Linked DNA regions of Homo sapiens: all the other regions are linked to region 2. The links are contacts of gene promoters, found by promoter capture Hi-C in blood cells and fetal thymus (Javierre and others, 2016). All regions are on one chromosome and are shown on one strand. The core of a region is centred on a gene start or on the middle of the fragment in contact, and the rest is flanking DNA. Distances in the headings are between cores, read along the strand shown.

Evidence for each region. Contacts are between HindIII fragments. The CHiCAGO score rates a contact against its expected background, and 5 or more counts as called.
Region 1: a fragment that was not itself captured here is called in contact with the fragment with the promoter of NXN in region 2 in 10 of 17 cell types (naive CD4 T cells, naive CD8 T cells, total CD8 T cells and 7 more); the score reaches 10.2 in naive CD4 T cells.
Region 3: a fragment that was not itself captured here is called in contact with the fragment with the promoter of NXN in region 2 in 15 of 17 cell types (endothelial precursors, naive CD4 T cells, megakaryocytes and 12 more); the score reaches 15.8 in endothelial precursors.

Annotation. Positions count from the first base shown.
Region 1 is chr17:755,044-757,743 of GRCh38, reverse strand. It overlaps the pseudogene DBIL5P. Among named protein-coding and RNA genes, the nearest start is that of GEMIN4, 4.1 kb to the right of the region's middle. The HindIII fragment of the contact is 2,801 bases long and covers 1-2,700 here.
Region 2 is chr17:978,424-981,123 of GRCh38, reverse strand. It overlaps NXN (nucleoredoxin), which reads left to right and starts at 1,348. Exons shown (of 8, transcript NM_022463.5): 1 at 1,348-1,805. The coding sequence starts at 1,446. RefSeq lists enhancers at 1-75, 1,500-2,435. The HindIII fragment of the contact is 5,276 bases long and covers 1-2,700 here.
Region 3 is chr17:775,701-778,400 of GRCh38, reverse strand. GLOD4 (glyoxalase domain containing 4) reads left to right here. Exons shown (of 9, transcript NM_016080.4): 3 at 1,413-1,533; 4 at 2,482-2,626. Among named protein-coding and RNA genes, the nearest start is that of GLOD4, 5.2 kb to the left of the region's middle. The HindIII fragment of the contact is 464 bases long and covers 1,054-1,517 here.

The DNA of each region.
Region 1 (2,700 bases), core at 51-2,550, 220 kb after region 2:
CACGTTGGGAGGCTGAGGCAGGCGGATCACCTGAGGTCGGGAGCTCGAGACCAGCCTGACCAACACGGAGAAACCCCATCTCTACTAAAAATACAAAATTAGATGGGTGTGGTGGTACCTGCCTGTAATCCCAGCTACTCAGGAGGCCAAGGCAGGAGAATCCCTTGAACCTGGGAGGCGGAGGTCGCGGTGAAGCGAGATCACGCTGTCGCACTCCAGCTGGGCACCAAGAGCGAAACTCCGTCTCAAAAAAAAAAAAATTATTTAGACGCCCATTAGATCCGCAAAAACTAATTTTAAACAAAAGTGATTAGTTTCCCACATCTGGGGGATATGATCAATTAGAAAATGGCATGAGGAAGATAGCTTTGCCCAAGCTGGTGTTTCATTTTTGGTTTTTGAGACATTGCTCTATCACGCAGGGTGGAGTGCAGTGGGGCACCATCGTGGCTTTCTGCAGCCTTGACCTCTGGGGCTCAAGAGATCCTCCCACCTCAGCCTCCCGAATGGCTGGGCCCACAGCCACGTGCCACCACACCCAGCCAACGTTTTGATCTTTTGTAGCGACCGTCTCACTGCGTTGTTCAGGCTGCAAGCTGTTGTTTCAAACAGATGAAGTTGGAAAGTTCTTCAGCTTCTCCAGAGTTGTTTTTTTGAATCAAGGGGTTGTGGAGCCTACATGTAAATACAAGTGTGCCTTGAGTTAAATCTCCGGGAAGACTTAGAACGGCCGTGTTGCCAGAGCTCTCCTAGTTAGCCTGCAGGACTGTCTGAAGTCCGTGTCCGTCTGACATGTTACCGGAATTAACAAACCTAGGGACGGTGAGTGCTCCTTCATGTGGCTTTCTGGCTCTCTCACCTGCCACTCAGTGCCGCTGTGACTTAGCAGCCAGAGTTTTCAGGAGACCTCCAACGTGTCCGTTGAAATTCAGGGTAAGAGTTGAGAAGTTTCCCTGTTTGTTCTAAGAGTTCTTACCCCAACCTCAGGGGAAATCAATAGTAAATTTACTCTGACTTCAATGATAATAAAGAAGTGCCCTTGCCTCATCCTCTTTATATAAAGCAATAGAGCCACATGGTTCAAAAATGAAAACAATATGAAAAGGTATTGTAAACCGGGTAAGTGTCTGAGACAAGTCTCGCCCATTTAGAGGTTTATTTTGCCAAGGCTGAGGATGTGCCTGAGACACAACCACAGATCTGTGGCCCCCGCACACTTTCCAGAGAGGATTTTTAGGGCCTCAGTATGTGGGATATGACGACGTTTCTCTTCAAATAATCTGATCAATCTTTTATTCTTTAATTCATAGCGCCCCGCCCCCTTTTTCTCCTTTTCCCTTTTTGCCTTTGTGAGATGCCCAGGCACGCCACAGCACCAGGCGTTATCAGTACCAGCTCACATTCCTTTCCTTATTTGGAAAGAGGACTAACTTTCTAGCTCATTACAGACACCCCTTCCCCTTCCTCTCCGCTTTCTTTTACGGGCCCACCCTATCTAAAAAAATCAAATGTTTAGCCAAGCGCGATTAGTTTAGATTGTACGACCTGACCCCGGCCAATGGGGAAAGGGTAGAGGGGCAGGACTTGTGTCAGGAACAAAGGCTCTCGTGCCCCTTTGTTCAGGTGTGCTCTCATGACAACTGGCCAAGGAGGCACCCCTCTGCACAGAAGTAAAATTGCTTTGCTAAGAATCCTTTGTTCGAGTGTTCTATTTCCTTAGGATTTTGAGCATTATTCCTAACAAGTATTTAAAAGGGAAAGAGCAGGAAGGGAGGGAAGAGGGAAAGGAAAAATACAGGAGGGTAGGTAGGGAGATAAGTGGTTACATTCTTATTAGGCTTTGATCAGCGCTCACCAAATCTACATGTCACAGTGAAAGGAGGGGGTAGAGGAACAGTCAGTTTTGCATTCAGCTCAGTAAATCTACATTTAGCACTCACCAAATCTACATGTTACAGTGAAAGGAGCAGGCAGAGGAACAGTCAGTTTTGCATTCAGCTCAGTAAATCTACATTTAGTGCTCACCAAATCTACATGTTACAGTGAAAGGAGCGGGCAGAGGAACAGTTACGCATTCAGCTCAGTAAGTCTACATTTAGCACTCACCAAATCTACATGTTACAGTGAAAGGAGCAGGCAGAGGAACAGTCAGTTTTGCATTCAGCTCAGTAAATCTACATTTAGCGCTCACCAACTCTACATGTTACAGTGAAAGGAGCGGGCAGAGGAACACTCAGTTATGCATTCAGCTCAGTAAATCTACATTTAGTGCTCACCAAATCTACATGTTACAGTGAAAGGAGCGGGCAGACGAACAGTCAGTTATGCATTCAGCTCAGTAAATCTACATTTAGCGCTCACCAAATCTACATGTTACAGTGAAAGGAGCGGGCAGAGGAACAGTTATGCATTCAGCTCAGTAAATCTACATTTACTGCTCACCAAATCTATATGTTACAGTGAAAGCAGCAGGCAGAGGAACAGTTATGCATTCAGCTCAGTACATCTATGTTTTGTCTCGGCTGGTGAGGGATGGTTTCTGGTGTTGTCTTTGTCCCTTACCTATGAAGATAAGCTGTTAATTTATATTGTCAGGTGAGGGAGACCACCTGGGGAGATATGTGGCCTTCTGTCTTGTAGCTTATCTGTTTAGGAACAAAAGGAAGTTTTTTGCATATTCCATGACTCAATTTCCAAGCT
Region 2 (2,700 bases), core at 99-2,598:
CAGTAGCTGATCCACACCGGCGGCCTGTTACTGTGGCTGGGCCCGGATCTGCACCTGCTTCGTGCACCAGTGGGTTGGGTTGGGGGGAGGCGCTGCGTGGCCAGAGTACTCGCCACGGACCACCTGTTTTTTTGTTTTTTTTGAGACGGAGTCTTGCTCTGTTGCCCAGGCTGGAGTGCAATGGAGCGATCTCGGCTCACTGCAGCCTCCGTCTCCCGGCTTCACGCCATTCTCCTACCTCAGCCTCCTGAGTTGCTCGGATTACAGGTGCCTGCCACTACACCCCGCTAATTTTTGTATTTTTAGTAGAGGCGGGGGGGGGGTGTCACCATATTGGCCAGGCTGGTCTCGAACTCCTGACCTTGTGATCCACCCACCTCGGCCTCCCAAAGTGCTGGGAATTCAGGCGTGAGCCACCGCGCCCGGCCCAGACCACCTGTTTAATCCAGCTTCTCCCTAAGCATTGGGGAGCATCCTGCCAGCTGGTAGGAAAAAAAAAATCTCTAGAAATGTTCTCAACTATCCATAGACTTGACATGAGGATGGAGCGGATTCAGGAGCGCGGCCAGCATTGGTCTGGAGGCCCCGCGGCGTCCTTTGCATCCATTTGTGGGGCTGGAAGACAGATTCGCTGGGGGGAGAGGCCCCGGCGACCCCTGGACGGAAATCCCACACTGAGACCTGGCACCCTAACCAGACCCCACCAGAAGCTGCGAGGGCGTCCTCGGCCCCCTTAGAACAGCTTGGAACACACAGAGGAGTCAGTGTCCAGCCAGGCCCGGCCTGATGCAGTGAGGACGGCGGGTCCTATAAGCATCTCAGGGTCAGTGGGGCCCGGAGCGGCCTAAGGGTCAGGCTTCGTGCAGGGAGAGGAGGAGGGAAAGGCCGGGGAGGAACAGGAAGAGGGTGAAGAGCTCCGCGGGGAGGGGGCGGGATCCCTGGAGGTCTGGAGGGAATTTAGAACTGGGGAGGAGAGAAAATGCGGGCCGGGCTGCAGCCCGGGAAAGCGCCGGCTCAGCGGGCCCTTCTCCTTTCTTCACTTCGGCCGTGGGCTTTCCAGGGAGAGTGCGGCGTTTCGGGTCCGGCTTCTCGCCCAAGCAGTCACCCCGCGCACCGCGGCCGGCAGCTGCGGACCCCGCCTGGGCGGAGAGCTCTGGCCACCGCCGGCCGCAAACGGGGCGTGGCGAGGGCGGAGGGGGCGTGGCGAGGGCGGGCGGAGGGGCGTGGCGAGGGCAGCCGAAGGGGCGTGGCGCGGGCCGCGGAGGGGGCGTGGCAGGGCGGGGGAAGGGGCGTGGCGCGGGCAGGCGGAGGGGGCGTGGCGTGGGCGGCCCTACTGGGCCGGGCTCTGCTCTCCCCAGCGCCTGCCGCCGACGCCGCCGCCTCCTCCCGCCGCGCGGACCGTGGAGCGGGGTCGCAGCCGCCTGCCCGCCCTGCGGTGGGCCAGGATGTCGGGCTTCCTGGAGGAGCTGCTCGGCGAGAAGCTGGTGACGGGCGGCGGCGAGGAGGTGGACGTGCACTCGCTGGGCGCCCGCGGCATCTCGCTGCTGGGTCTCTACTTCGGCTGCAGCCTCAGCGCCCCCTGCGCGCAGCTCAGCGCCAGCCTGGCCGCCTTCTACGGGCGCCTGCGGGGGGACGCGGCGGCCGGGCCGGGGCCGGGAGCGGGGGCCGGGGCGGCGGCGGAGCCCGAGCCGCGGCGGCGCCTGGAGATCGTCTTCGTGTCCTCGGACCAGGACCAGCGGCAGTGGCAGGACTTCGTGCGGGACATGCCGTGGCTGGCGCTGCCCTACAAGGAGAAGCACAGGAAGGTGAGCGGCGCGGGCCTCGCCGGCCCCTGCCCGCCCCCCACGCCCGTTACCCCTGCCCGCCCCCCACGCCCGTTACCCCTGCCCTCCGCCAACCCCGTTGTCCCCCTGCCCGCCCTCCACCCCCCGACCCCTGCCCCCAGTCCCCCGCCCCCCGACCCACTGTCCTCTCCCCGCCCCCCACCCCGCCGTCCCCGCCTCTGCCCCCCCCCCTTCCGCGCTGTGCCCGCACCCTCATCCCAGGACCCCTCTTTGGTTCGAGTGCTGCGCTGCGCCCGCCCTGGAAAGTTGGACCCCCCTCGGCCCCCGGGATCCCGGCTCGAGCCCCTCCGTCCGCACACGCTGGGAGCCTCGGGTGGGGGCGGCTGCGCTCGGGGATCCCGGTTCCGCGACCCCTTCACCCGCGAGCAGAGGCGCCAGGCCCTTCCTGCCTCCGCCGCCGACCCCCGCGGATTCCCACAGTGGGGAGGGGAGGGGAGGGGAGGGCGCACGCCCCCCGCCCGTGGCGCCCAAACCAGCGCGTTTCCTTTCTTTCCGGGAGAAACCTGCCTTCCCGGAGCCCCTTCCCCGGGGACCGGGGACCTGGGGGCCGAGGCCGAGGTCAGGAGAGGCGGCCGGTGACCGTGGCCGTGGCTGTGGCCGAGAAGGGCGCTCACGGCTCCGTCTCCCGCCCCCGCCTCCCCCGCCCCAGGCTGAGTTCGCGGCCACCGGGGAGCTTTGCATTGTCTGGCCGTCCAGCCTCCTCCCCAGACGCCTCCCGGGCGCGGGAACAGCCCGGGCTGTGCAGAGCTCAGCTGCGTGGTGGCCCCTGTGGTCCCGGGGTCTTCGAGTTAAGGGCTGAGCTGACCCCATCGATGCACATTGACTGGAAGAAGGAGGATTTGGGGAAATGGATACT
Region 3 (2,700 bases), core at 36-2,535, 200 kb after region 2:
TCTAACACCAGCCGGCTGTCCTGTTATTTAATTGATTCTGACTCTACCTGGAGTTAATGTCAGATCCTGCAAGTTAAGGGCTCAGTCCCAGAAGATTTTCCGCCACGTCAGGCGCCGGTCACAGTCTGGATCTTCAGGATTTCCGATGACCAACTACAAGTCAGGGCTCCCGCTCCTGCTTCCTTGGGTTTGATAGTCTGCTACAGTGGCTCATGGAACTAAGGGAAACGCTGGAAACACTTACTTACATTTACTGGTTTATCATAAAGAGTACGAGTCAGAAATGGCTGGACAGAGGAGATACACAGGGCAGGGCATGGGGAGTGGGTGGCAGAGCTTCCATGCTCTTCTGGGCAGGCTCCAATCCAGCACCTCCCTACGTTCAGCATCCCAGAAGCTCATGAGTCTCATTGTTCAAGCCTAATAGAGCCCAGTCTCCATCCCTTTCCTTCCCAGAGGTTGGTGGATGGGACTGAAAGTTCAGTCCTCTAATCATTTGTCTTTCTGGTGACCAGCCCCATCCTGAGTCTATGTAGAGGCCCCACTCTAAGTCACTTCATTAGCATAAACTCAGGTGTGACTGAAAGGGGCTCATTATGAATATAACAAAAGATATTCCTATCAGGAAATTCCAGAGGTTTTGGGAGCTCTGAGACAGGAACCAGGGACAATGACCAGATATGTTTCATATTATGCCACAAATGCAAATAAGTACATGCTCTAGATGAAGCAGCGGCTTTCCAGTATCTTTTTTTTTTTGAGACAGAATCTCACTTTGTCACCCAGGTGGGAGTGCGGGGTCATTATCCTGGCTCACTGCAACCTCTGTCTTCTGAGTTCAAGCAATTCTCCTCCCTCAGCCTCCCTAGTACGTGGGACTATGGGCATGTGCCACCATGCCCAGCTAATTTTTGTATTTTTAGTAGAGACGGGGTTTCACCATGTTGGCCAGGCTGGTCTCGAACTCCTGACCTCAGGTGATCCTCCCGCCTCGGCCTCCCAAAGTGCTGGGATTACAGGCCTGAGCCACCACGCCCGTCCATCTCTTAAGCTTAGTACCGTGACAAGTTGGAACAGTCCAAGGCCTATTAGGAATTTCATGCTTGTTGATTGATAGTCAAGGAAATAACAGGTCAGTTGGAGAACTGTCTTTAGGATTCTGTTCCTTGCTTTACAGAAAAGGTGAACAAATCTTTCCTTCAGGTAGATGCTGGATAGTCTTTGGAGCTTGTAGTAGGGTCCCATGAGCACTGCCCACAGCTGCTTTCTGTACCATCTGAGGTCATCTCATCCTTAAGAGAACTTTTAGGACCAGACAGGAATGCTCATCTCTCTGTGCCCAGTAGTTCTCTGGGGGTGGCCTGAGGCTGACTTGTCTGTAGTCACTGAGTTCATTTACTTTTATTTTCTAGGCCTTATGATGGGAAATGGAGTAAAACAATGGTGGGATTTGGGCCTGAGGATGATCATTTTGTCGCAGAACTGACTTACAATTATGGCGTCGGAGACTACAAGCTTGGCAATGACTTTATGGTAAATACCGTTTTTTTCTAGCAGAGTTTTGGCTGGGGGTAGGTGGCTGGTTGTAAATTTGAGTAGAGTGCCAAGGGTGTGTGTGAGTGAAGAGATAACATTTGAGCAGAGACTCAAAAGAGGTCAGGGAGTTAGCCACGTGGATATCTGGGGGATGCGCGTTCCAGGCAGAGAATATTCTGGCAAGAGCCGTCAGGTAACATCTGGCGTGTTCGAGGAGGTGTAAGGAAGCCAGTGTGGCTGGAATAGAGAACGAGAGGGGAGCGTGGTAAGAGATGGGGTCGGCAGTGCCATGGGGTAAGACTGCAGGGGGCCTCCTAGGCCGTAAGTCACCGAGTGAAATGAGCCATTGGCGGACTTTGAGCAAAGGGAAAACAAGGCTGGCTGCAGTCTGGGGGTGGACTATAGGATGCGTTTTGGAAAGTTTACTTTGGCTGCAGAGTGGGTAATGGATTTACAAGACTGGAGGCAGAGAGGCCATTATAATAAACCGAGCCAGAAACAAGGCTGGTCTTCTCAAAGCACACGTGTACATTTCTAGGCACTTTGATTAAATGTAAGGAAACCTTGATAGTTTGCTTATTTTTGTTTTGTTTGTTAAAAAAGCAAGAACAGGTCACCTTAAATAGGTAGCTAGCTGGCAGACCCAGGTAACATCAAGATTTCTGTGGCTAGATCTTTAGAATTAGAAGACGTTATCTTTGGTGTTAAATGAATCAGACTTCACTGGCATTTCAATTTCTGTCCTATTATTCACAAAGGTCTGAATGTTTGTGGGATAAAACATTGAAAACCTGTTTTTAAATCACTAGAAGAAAATGTTGGATGCCAGTTAAATCTTAGGTGATTTTACCTAAAGGCAGTAGGCAATAGGGGTTGGGCTCATTGTCTTGTTCTGTAAAATATCTGTTGTGATCATGTACTTGGATGTACTGTTGTTTGTTGTAGGGAATCACGCTCGCTTCTAGCCAGGCTGTCAGCAACGCCAGGAAGCTGGAGTGGCCACTGACGGAAGTTGCAGAAGGTGTTTTTGAAACCGAGGCCCCGGGAGGATATAAGTTCTATTTGCAGAATCGCAGTCTGCCTCAGTCAGGTAATTATACCAGAACCAGTAAAAGCCTCTGTCTAAAGGCATCTTTGGTGAAAGGAGAGTGAGGGCTGCCTGTC